2 separate regions of the Homo sapiens genome follow, and region 2 is linked to region 1. The links are contacts of gene promoters, found by promoter capture Hi-C in blood cells and fetal thymus (Javierre and others, 2016). All regions are on one chromosome and are shown on one strand. Each heading gives the region's core, a stretch centred on a gene start or on the middle of the fragment in contact. The rest is flanking DNA. Distances are from core to core; before and after follow the strand shown. Region 1 holds the start of GBP5 (guanylate binding protein 5). Region 2 has its middle 20 kb from the start of GBP4.

What was found. The method cuts DNA at HindIII sites, captures the fragments that hold promoters and counts their contacts. A CHiCAGO score of 5 or more calls a contact.
Region 2: a contact is called between a fragment that was not itself captured here and the fragment with the promoter of GBP5 in region 1, in 7 of 17 cell types (total CD8 T cells, non-activated CD4 T cells, naive CD8 T cells and 4 more). The highest score is 9.1, in total CD8 T cells.

The regions. Positions count from the first base shown.
Region 1 is chr1:89,269,192-89,274,873 of GRCh38, forward strand. GBP5 (guanylate binding protein 5) reads right to left here and starts at 3,669. Exons shown (of 12, transcript NM_052942.5): 1 at 3,261-3,669; 2 at 1,564-1,671; 3 at 175-383. The coding sequence starts at 364. It also overlaps the pseudogene LOC100421401. The HindIII fragment of the contact is 6,725 bases long and covers 284-5,682 here.
Region 2 is chr1:89,216,086-89,221,702 of GRCh38, forward strand. No RefSeq gene overlaps it. Among named protein-coding and RNA genes, the nearest start is that of GBP4, 20 kb to the left of the region's middle. The HindIII fragment of the contact is 1,615 bases long and covers 1,850-3,464 here.

The sequences.
Region 1 (5,682 bases), core at 2,419-4,918:
TCAGGAACAGAGAACTGGTCTTCATCTTCCAAAAGATAAAAAGACCAGCTGTAGCCTAAACATTGGCTTTTAATATTCATCCTCATGTCTTACTCTCTCCTTGCTTCCTCGTACTGGATGGTGACTGTGTGAATGGACAGAAGGGTTTGGCAGAGCTTTGCTGGTACCACTCACCCTTGTTCTTCCCAGCCAGCTTGTTCATCAGGTAGGATTTGCCAGTGCGATAGAGGCCCACAATCGCTACCACAACTACAGGTTGCGTAATGGCAGACAGGATCTCCAAAGCTTCCTGATTAACCTTCAGCTGCTCATTAAAGTTCTCGATGAGGCACATGGGGTCTGACATGTGGATCTCTAAAGCCATGTCTAGGATGTTACTTTGCCTGCAAGGGAACAGATGGGATAGGCTGGAATTTCTGGTGTTTGTTTAATAAGCAAAGGAAGTCATTTTGCTTACTGAACCTGGGGACATACTACTCCCCAGCACTGCCTAAGTTTCTGGAAAAAAAAAGTTTTAAAATAAAAAGAGTCCTGTAAAATAGAGAGACTTTATTTTAAAACAAAAGTAAGTCCTAGGCCCTTTATATGTCTACTATAGGCCATTCTACTGGTTCTTAAATATTTGATAGGCATACGAAAATCCATTTCCTGCGTCTAACCTACTAGTTTGAATCTAACTCTTATTCCATTGGTTTTTGGCTTAGTTATGTTTTTTAGTTTTTACCTCCCTGGGTTCCTATATTAATTCTTTATGATGTTCTTTATTAATATATTACACTGTTCCTTTTACTTTGTGTCAACTTCATTTTTTTCAGTTAGATCTATGTCCAGTCAAACTGCATTACATTAAATACTACCAAGTCATTATGCAGCATTATCTAACAAATCATAGCTGTTTGCTTCTTAGTGATATACTTGAAATTTTTTACATAGTTACTAATGTGCTTTATTAAACCAAAACTTCAAAGCATGATTATTTTATGATTGACTGAATGAGTAAAACAACTTCCTTTAATAATACTTAACCTATTTTTTTCTAACTTCTGAGCATCAATCCCTATAACCTAAAGAGTCTCTGGTTAAAAAAAATGTTTGAGCTATATGAGAAAAAGCAAATGCCATAAAAATATGCTTTTCTACTTTGCCTTATCATAAAGGATAGTTTTCTTCCATTTTAAAGGTGGTTATTTACTAAGGATGCTAAAACTTCACTATCCGCTTGACGAGTTCTTTCACTAAAATCTTACAATGAAAAGGTTTGGATTCTCCATCTCTTTACTAGCAAATTTCAAAAACTGTCATTTTACAATTATGAAGACCCATTCTCCCTGCTTCCTCATAGCTAATGCCCTGGAAATCATTATGTTGACATAAATTAAAACAGAAACTGCTTGGCAGCAGAAAATAGGATATCCATTTGCAAATGGTGTAGCACTAGGACATGGGAGTCAGGAAATGCCTAGTGCAAGCCTGACCCAGAAAGAGGCAATTTTGCAACAAATTTAGAGACTCAAATGGCAGGTCTCTTCTCATTCTAATCTATTTTCAATGTAGTATTAGTACCTTATATATGTAGAATTCTGGTTGCCTGATTTGTATGCAGCGGAGGCCAGAATAATTTTTCCACTAGAAAGATATGGGCACCTTGAAGTGATGATCTACAACAATTAGCTAGAAAAACAAAAGATACATAAGCCAAATCTATAAGCAGATATTGAGAGCTTACAAGATCTTATGATTTGGGATGATGTCACTAAGGAAGAGGGAATGAATGTGTCTGAGTGTTCAGACTCTCTTATGAATGACAATAGCATTGTATATCTACATTAATAATAGTATTTGACATGTTGTCCCCAATGTCATCTGGATAGCATCTTTAATGCTTTTAGTAAAGCCAAATTTCTAAAACATTATTGCAGATTTAATGTGTTCAAGCCACAAACATAACTGTTGCTCTGTTATTCATAACTTAGTGTTCTGGGATGCATTCTCCCTAACTGCTTGAGCCCTATAACCTTTGCAAATAAAAACAATGCAAGAATGGTTCAAAATACACACACAAAATGCACATTTTGCCCTTGCCTTAAATTAGACTTGATTTCCAACCCCAGCCCTACAACTGGCTATCTGTATCTCTCTGGCATTTCACTCAATTCTTTCAGCTTGTTTTCTAAAAAAGCAAAAGTAAATAAACAACTATTTATTAACATCAGTATAACTGCTGGCTTATGAAAGAGAGTGAGCGAGCTGCAGGAGATTTTAAAAAGTGCAAAGAAGGAAAATGCCCAAAAAAAAATACTAAGAGAAAATGCTCAGAAGTGGTAGTGGAAGGATTTCTGAAAGAAAACATCTGTTTTCAGCCATATGATTCTAGTTTGGGTTTTGCGCCTGCATTTGTATATGTAGTTGTTATTGCTTGCTTTTGCTTATTTTGCATAGTTTCTGGTTTGAATTTCAAGGAAAAGGAAAAGGCTCTTATTAAGGATATAAATGGAAATCAAACTAGTACAAAATGCTTGAAGTATGTGTCATGGTAAGAAATTCAAAGGAGAGAATTTCAACGAGTGAACAGTTGCCAGACAGTATTGAGGGATCCAGTTGGGCAACTGTTAAATTAGGTGATTCATAATAGTAAAGGCAATAGAGTAGTAGAAGCAGAACCCAACACAAAAGGGGTTAGTTAAGTGAGTAGATGCCAAGAAACCAACATGAATTAAGTCAGGGCTATTGCTAAAGGAAGAAATCTACTTTCAAACAAAGTACAAGACTATGACTAAAAATACATCACTGTTTTCATGAAACTTCTCTCTGGGCAACATTTTTTTCTTGTCCTTAATGTTTGCAAGCTACTTACATTGCATCATATTCATTGTTCTTTCTCATGAAAATAATAGCTATCATAGTTTTTGAAACTTTCATGCTGAAGTTCGAGTCAGTTTAATCAGATTTTATGAAGGACGAAGGTAACTTAAGTGGAAATTATGATCCTGAATAAGTCATAAAATTGCAAAGGAAGAAAAATAATTTGAAGGCATTTCAAACTCTTAGTTTAGTCACCACACACATTGATGTCTAATTCAGCAAGAGGCAGACACAGCTGGTACTTGATGAATTCTGCTGCCTGTCTGATAAGAATACAATTTATTCTTTACTGAGGTCTGATATACCACATCAGGATAAGCTGCATCCTATCCTTTGTAGAATGTTTCTAAAACCAAATGAATCTTGCAAATCTCTTCCACCTCTTGCCCCAGTCTTACCGTGTCCGGAATTGGTGGGTTCTTGGTCTCACTGACTTCAAGAATGAAGCCGCGGACCCTAGCGTTGAGTGTCACGGTTCTTAAAGGTGGCGTGTCAGGAGTTTGCTCCTTCTGATGTTCGGATGTGTTTGGAGTTTCTTCCTTCTGGTGGGTTCGTGGTCTGGCTGGCTCAGGAGTGAAGCTGCAGACCTTCGCGGTGAGTGTTACAGCTCTTAAGGCTGCGCGTCTGGAGTTGTTTGTTCCTCCTGGTGGGTTCGTGGTCTCGCTGGCTTCAGGAGTGAAGCTGCAGACATTCCCAGTGAGTGTTACAGCTCATAAAGGCAGTGTGGACCCAAAGAGTGAGCAGCAGCAAGATTTATTGCAAAGAGTGAAAGAACAAAGGTTCCACAGCCTGGAGGGTGACCTCAGTGGGTTGCCACTGCTGGCTACTTCTCTTATCTGGCCCCACCCACATCCTGCTGATGGGTCCATTTTACAGAGAGCCGATTGGTCCATTTTACAGAGAGCTGATTGGTCTGTTTTGACAGGGTGCTGATTGGTGTGTTTACAATCCCTGAGCTGGACACAAAAGTTCTTCATGTCCCCACTAGATTAGCTAGATACAGAGTGTGGATTGGCCTATTTACAAACCTTGAGCTAGATACAGAGTGCTGATTGGTGCATTTACAAACCTTGAGGTAGATACAGAGTGCTGATTGGTGCATTTACAATCCCTTAGCTAGACATAAAGATTCTCCAAGTCCCCACCAGATTAAATAGATACAGAGTGCTGATTGGTGTATTTACAATCCCTTAGCTAGACATAAAGATTCTCCAAGTTCCCACTAGACTCAAGAGCCCAGCTGGCTTCACCCAGTGGATCTTGCACCGGGCGGCAGGTGGAGCTGCCTGCCAGTCCTGCTCCATGCACTGGCACTCCTCGGTCCTTGGGCCATGGATGGGACAGGGTGCTGTGGAGCAGGGGTCAGCACAGGTTGGGGAGGCTCAGGCAGCACAGGAACCCATGGCGGGGTGAGGTGGGGAGCGGGAGAGGGGAGGAGGCTCAGGCATGGCAGGCTGCAGGTCCCCAGCCCTGCCCCACCGGGAGGCAGCTAAGGCCCTGCAAGAAGTGGAGCACAGCAGCTGCTGGCCCAGGTGCTAAGCCCCTCACTGCCTGGGGCCGCTCCGAGTGCAGGTCCCTCAGAGCCCAAGCCCACCCAGAACTCGCGCTGGCCCTCAAGCACCGGGCGCAGCCCCAGTTCCCACCCCTGCCTCTCCCTCCACACCTCCCAGCAAGCTGAGGGAGCCAGCTCCGGCCTCGGCCAGCCCAGGAAGGGGCTCCCACAGTGCAGCGGAGGGCTGAAGGGCTCCTCAAGTGCCGCCAGAGTGGGTGCCCAGGCAGAGGAGGCACCGAGAGCGAGGGAGGGCTGCAAGGGCTGCCAGCACGCCGTCACCTCTCATTACCTTGATTATAAAATCGGGAGAAGAGGTATTTTAGAGCTAGTAAGAAAACTGCTTCCATGAGGGACTGGGCACGGTGGCTCACGCCTGTAATCCCAGCATGTTGGGTGGCCGAGGCGGGTGGATGACGAGGTCAGGAGATCTAGACCATCCTGGCTAACACGATGAAACCCCGTCTCTACTAAAAATATACAAAAAATTACCTGGGCATGGTGGCGGGCGCCTGTGGTCCCAGCTACTCGGGAGGCTGAGGCAGGAGAATGGCTTGAACCTGGGAGGCGGAGCTTGCAGTGAGCCGAGACTGCACCACTGCACTTCAGCCTGGGTGACAGAGCGAGACTCTGTCTCAAAAAAAAAAAAAAAAAGAAAAGAAAAGAAAAAAGAAAGCTGCTTCGATGAGAACTTGCTGAGTTCGAACTCTCGTCTTTTACTTTCACTGTGGTGATTTCTCATTTATTTTCTTCACTCAGTCCTGGGGTTTTTGTTCTTCCCACCCCATTTTCCCTGCTCGAAAAAGGAGACAATTTGAATACAAAATATGGAATAACAGAAAGGGGGATTTTTGAAAGTTCTCTGTAGGAAATAGAAACCAAAAAGGAAATTCAGTGACTAAGCCAGATGACAAAGGGAATTGCCCAACTGTTACCTAGTGTAGATAGGCTGGATGTATTTGACCTGACTTCTTTGAAACTGCATGTTTCCTAGAAACTGCAGAGAATCCTTTCAGTGCCAGCCATACTCCTCCCTGCTTCCATTGTTGTTGTTACTAGAAGAGAAATTTGAGATCTTTCACAGTTGTTCAAAGTATGTGGTATTTCAAACCTAGCTTGAAATACGTTGACATTCATCTCCAGTTTGGGAGTAGGCCAGGGGAAGAGCTCATATGATTTTTGAGGTCTATTGTTGTGAAATGTTAGAGCTGCTCACACAGGACTAAGTTTATTACTTTCGCAGTAGGTTCAGTAGCTGAGAACTTTAACTC
Region 2 (5,617 bases), core at 1,407-3,906, 54 kb before region 1:
TTTATTTCTTCTAAAAAAAAAAAAACAACTAGATACACGTGCAGAAAGTGCAGGTTTGCTACATAGGAATACATGTGCCATGGTGGTTGGCTGCGCCTATTGACCCATCCTCTAAGTTTCTTCCCCTCACCCCCCACTCCCCCAACAGACCCTGGGGTTTGTTGTTCTCCTCTCTGTGTCCATGTGTTCTCAATGTTCAAGTCCCATTTACGAATGAGAATATGCTGTGTTTGGTTTTCTGTTCCTGTGTTAGGTTGCTGAGGATGATGGCTTCCAGCTTCATCCATATCCCTGCAAAGGACATGATCTCATTTTATGGCTGCATAATATTCCATGGTGTATATGTATCACATTTTCTTTATCCAGTCTATTGATGATGGGCATTTGGTTGGTTCCATGTCTTTACTTCTTTTCTTTACTATTGTAAATACTACTGCAATAAATGTACATGTGCATGTATCTTTATAATAGAATGATTTATATTCCTTTGGGTATATACCCAGTAATGGGATTGCTGGGTCAAATGGTATTTCTGGTTTTAGATCATTGAGGAATTGCCATACTGTCTTCCTCAATGGTTGAACTAATTTACATTCCCGCCAACAGTGTAAAAGCGTTCCTATTTCTCCACAGCCTCACCAGCATCTATTATTTCCTGACTTTTTAATCATCACCATTCTGACTGGTGTGAAATGTCTCATTGTGGCTTTGATTTGCATTTCTCTGATGATCAATGATGTTGAGATTTTTTTCATGTTTGTTAGCTGCGTAAATGTCTTCTTTTGAGAAGTATTTGTTCATATCCTTTGCCCACTTTTTGATGGGATTGTTTTAACAGACTCCTTCTTCCAATTTCTTTTCTTTTATTGCTGTGGACAGGAGAAATTGTAGAGGTTTTTTAAACATATCTAAAAAAGCTTTAAGAGGGAGTAGACGTGCTTACAAAGTTTTTTTTTTCTTTTTTCTTTTCTGCAAAGCAGGATGAAGGTATCCAAGGTAAGAAGCTTTTAACTCTAAAGGAAACAAGTAAAATTAGATAGCTCTGTTAGCTGAGGGTAGACCATCAGTGGCTTCCAAAACTTACTGTCCATGAGAATTATCTGCAGTGATGGTTACAAATGCTCCAAACCTGTAGTTTCAAAAAGTGCCACAAGTTATTCTGATGCACTTTAGTCATGGACCACACATTTATGAACAGTGCTCCATAAACAAATATGCTTATACCTTATTGTTATTTTTAACAATTTGTAAGTGTGACATTGAATTATTCCATATAATACAGCTTTGTAGTATCTACAGAATATTATTCATTGTGGATAATTAAAAAATAATTGAGCCTCTGTTTTAGTATTTAAATTTTCTTAAGGTAAGGACCATTTTGTTGTTGTTGTTGTTTCTCCAATGCGATGGCAAAAGACAGTCAGGCAATGTCTAAGGAAGAGAGATGAAGCAGGCTGGGGGTAGGGTGGAGAAAGCTATTCCACCCAGACCCTCTGTGAGGGGGCTGGATTTGGTCTCTTTGTTTGAGAAGTGACTACAGCTCTTGTTGCACAGAGAAGGGTAGGATGCATTCTTCCATGTCCTAGGTAGGGTTCTTTGCTACAGCCCTGAGTGGATACCCAAGGAGGAGGAGGAGCAGTGCATCCTGGGGATGTTGGGAGTGCACTGTCACCTCAAAGCCAACTCTGGACTAAATGGACATACTGGTTCTCTAGAAGCAAAGCACTCCACAAGCCATACAGCACAGGGCCACCTGCATGGTCCTCCAGCTAACTTAGCCCACCCTCTAGTGCAGTCTGTGTTTGGGAATTCATTGTTGTTTGTTAACCCAAATGTACATGAAAGGTAAAGCTTAGGAGTGAATTTACCTGGTGTGGGCCCTGCAGCCAGGGGACAAGTTCCTAGCCGCCCTTGCTGAGCCCTTCAGCTCTCCTGTGTCTGGCTCCCTGCAAATGAAATGTTCTTTTTAGTAGCTGAAAATCAAACCAGATATTGTTACCAAAACACCAGGGGTTTGTTCTAAGCCCTGATGCTCACTGCACATAAAACCAATCACCAAGATGATGAGGATTGCCAGGGAAGAAGGCTTTAATTGGGTGCTCCAGCTGAGGAAATGAGAGCTCAGTCTCAGATCCATCTCACTGACCAACTAAAATTAAGGGTTTACATGGCAGGGAAGAAATGTAACTATGTGTGGAGAAACAGGAACTAGGGAAGAGTAAAGAAACAATCGTAATTAATGAGGGTCATGGCATCCTATTGACTGGATATGATGATCTGGTGAGTTTCAGTTCTTTGATACTCTTTGAGAGGACTGGGGGTCCTTTCTTGAGGAAGGAACTCAGATAAAACAAATGTAAGTTTCAAGCCCTAAGACCACAAGTGCCAACCTCTATGTTTGTAAGAAAAAACTGTCTATGAGATTATTGGGTTGGTTTCAGTATAAGCCATCCAATTAAGAATCCAATGAGGAAAACTGAAATTGAAAAGACATACATTTCTTGTGGATTTTTCTGTTCACATTTTCACTGTTTTTGCTGAGGCAGGAGGTTGTGTGGCATGAGACAGTGTGTCCAGAATTGGTTCCTTCCAGTGGGTTCTTGGTCTCGCTGACTTGAAGAATGAAGCCACGGACTGTTGCAGTGAGTGTTACAGTTCCTTAAAGACGGTGTGTTCCTTCAGATGTTCAGATGTGTCCAGAGTTTATTCCTTCTGGTGGGTTCACGGTCTCGCTGACTTCAGGAGTGAAGCCACAGATATTCGTGGTGTTACAGCTCATAAAGGTAGTGTGGACCCAAAGGGTGAGCAGCAGCAAGATTTTTTGAGAAGAGTGAAAGAACAAAACATCCACAGTGTGGAAGGGGACCCGAGCAGTTTGCCATTGCTGGCTTGGATGTGGCCAGCTTTTATTCCCTTATTTGGCCCCGCCCATGTCCTGCTGATTAGTACATTTTATAGAGCACTGATTGGTCCATTTTACAGAGTGCTGATTGGTCCATTTTTACAGAGTGCTGATGGTGCATTTATAAACCTTTAGGTAGACACAGAGCACTGATTGGTCCATTTTTACAGAGTGCTGATGGTGCATTTATAAACCTTTAGGTAGACACAGAGTGCTGATTGGTGCATTTTTACAGAATGCTGATTGGTGCATTTGCAAACCTTTAGCTAGACACAGGGCGCTGATTGGTGTGTTTACAATCCTTTAGCTAGACAGAAAAGTTCTCCAAGTCCCCACCTGAACCAGAAGCCCAGCTGGCTTCACCTCTCAACAGGAAGAAAGTCAGCTTCTTCCACACTGGGCTTTAGAAACCAAGATTTGCCCCTCCTTTAGCATTGGTAAAGGTTTCCTTGATGATCCCAAGAAATACAGTGCATTCCCCTTACAGTGGGAATGTAAACAAAGCAATGGTATGCTGAAAACATAAAACATCCTGGCTCAGGAGTAATTCTGTGAGGGAAGAAGCTTGTTTTTTAAATTAACATTTTTTTTAATTCCTCATTTTTTCTTTTTATCTTCTTTTTTTGAATATATATATTTAACACAATGTTATTTTCACTAGCAATCAAAATACTCATATGTGTGTTTGCATGTACACATTCATGTATATTTTTCTATGTGCATACTTAACTTCATGGCCATATATTGCAGCGGGATAATTTAGGAATCAGAGAGACTGAGGAGTTGAAGAGGATACTTATTATTTATTATTTAGGTGCACCGGCCCAGTCAGATTAACATCCAAAAAAACTGAGCTCCAAACAAAGAGTCTGGTTATCTTTTAAGCATTTTGTGGGGTGGGGGAGATCTGTGCAGGGGGAAGCATATTACAGAAGCAAGAAACAAAGACAGTTATTTAATTGAGACATGCATTACATCATTTCTTACTTTTCAAGGAAAAACATGTTTTACAACTTGAGTTTATCTGCCTAGTGGCCTTGCAGCTGCACAGCTAGAAAAACAGGGTCTTCACAATGCCTGGGAAAGGGAGAGATAAGGCTCACTAGCCACAGGAAAACAGGCAGTTAAGTTTTAAAGGACTTCATCTCTTTCTCTTCCTCAGGGGGAATTGGGTTTTCTTACATACAACTGAGTTTTTGCTTACACATTCTTTAATTTCTTTTAATTCCTGTTTCAATATAACAACAAAAGCAGCTAGATAAATATAAACCTTAGCTAAATTGCCAGTGGTTTATCTAGTAAAATTTAATCATACAATATTTAGACCTGAAAGATACATTATAACTCTAAAAGTACGTGCAATAATATTAGAATTTTTTTGAAATCTTGTAATTAAACTTGGCAGACTCAAGACACAAACCTAATCTGAGATAATTATAGTGGTCCCATACTTTCTGAGTCATGAAGATTGATTTAGAGGAAGAATGAGCATATGACCTAAGACCAAATAAAAGCAGTCCTTCTTCAGTTACCTAGATCCAAAAAGTTTCTCCCTCTCTCCCTCTCACTCTTTCTCTTATTCTAGATAACTTCCTTTTTCTCTCATCTCTCTCATTTTTTAAAATGAGTGTATAAAGATGTGAGTCTAGAGACCCAGAATGTAAAGCCAGTTAGTTTTTTGCTCCAAAACATGATTTATGTTATTTTCAATGGAGGAAAAATAAATAAATTTGGAGTCCTACTTCCAGCTTCCATGACTTGTAAATGCCACAAGGAAAAAAATATTTTAAAATCATATTCCATAAGTCTAATCCAAAAAATATGAACAGGTAAAAGAATAACTATTAAAATGGTTTCTTACAATAAAGGAGTTTAATGAGCCTTGATTTAATGAAAATGACTTTTTAAGTATTCTACTAATTTAACTCCAGAACCAGTGATTTGGAACAACTTGTTCATTACAAATTCTTCAGTCAGGAAAAATGTAGAGACAAAGAAACAATGGTCTTTTAAAGATAAGATTCATAGCCTTGGGGAATTCTAGAATAGGAAAGTATAGTCACTGTGAAAACCAGTAAAAATAAGGCAAACTAAAACCACCTAGGATATTATTGGGCATAGAAATAGACAGGATAAAGACAAGGCTTTTAGAACTACCCAAAAAGTCAGGCAATGGAACTCACTTGTTGAGTTGGCTGTGATGTCACTTTTTCAAGAAATTGGAGATGCATCACTTGAGAAAAGTATACCCTCAATTCAGTCTTATTGTACCTGGAACATGGAGCTTAAAGGGAAAACTGAATTTAACAGATCTTTTAATTTGCAGAATAGATCAATGGGAAGAAATTGTCTCAAGTTAGGCTATTATATTGCAATCCTAGTATAGCATATTTATGAGTTTATAAAAGTCTACAGTGTCTCAGGCTGCTTTTGGAGAGACAAAGGCTAGTCTTCTGTGCCTCATGTCCAAGTTGGTTCAGGCTATGCTGCCTCACTTCATACTTCCACCCTTCCAGGAAGTAAGTGTTAGCTTTGTGACACAGCACAGATAGAGACTACAGACACCACTCAAGTTATAGCTTTAGACGTTTGTTTATTTATCTCATTGCCTTTATCTCATTACATATTCATTGCTCTGGCTCCCTTAGAGAACAGGTCCAGTGACTTGCAAAGGAGACTCTTGGGAAAAAGCATGTCATTCTTCTTCTGGAGATC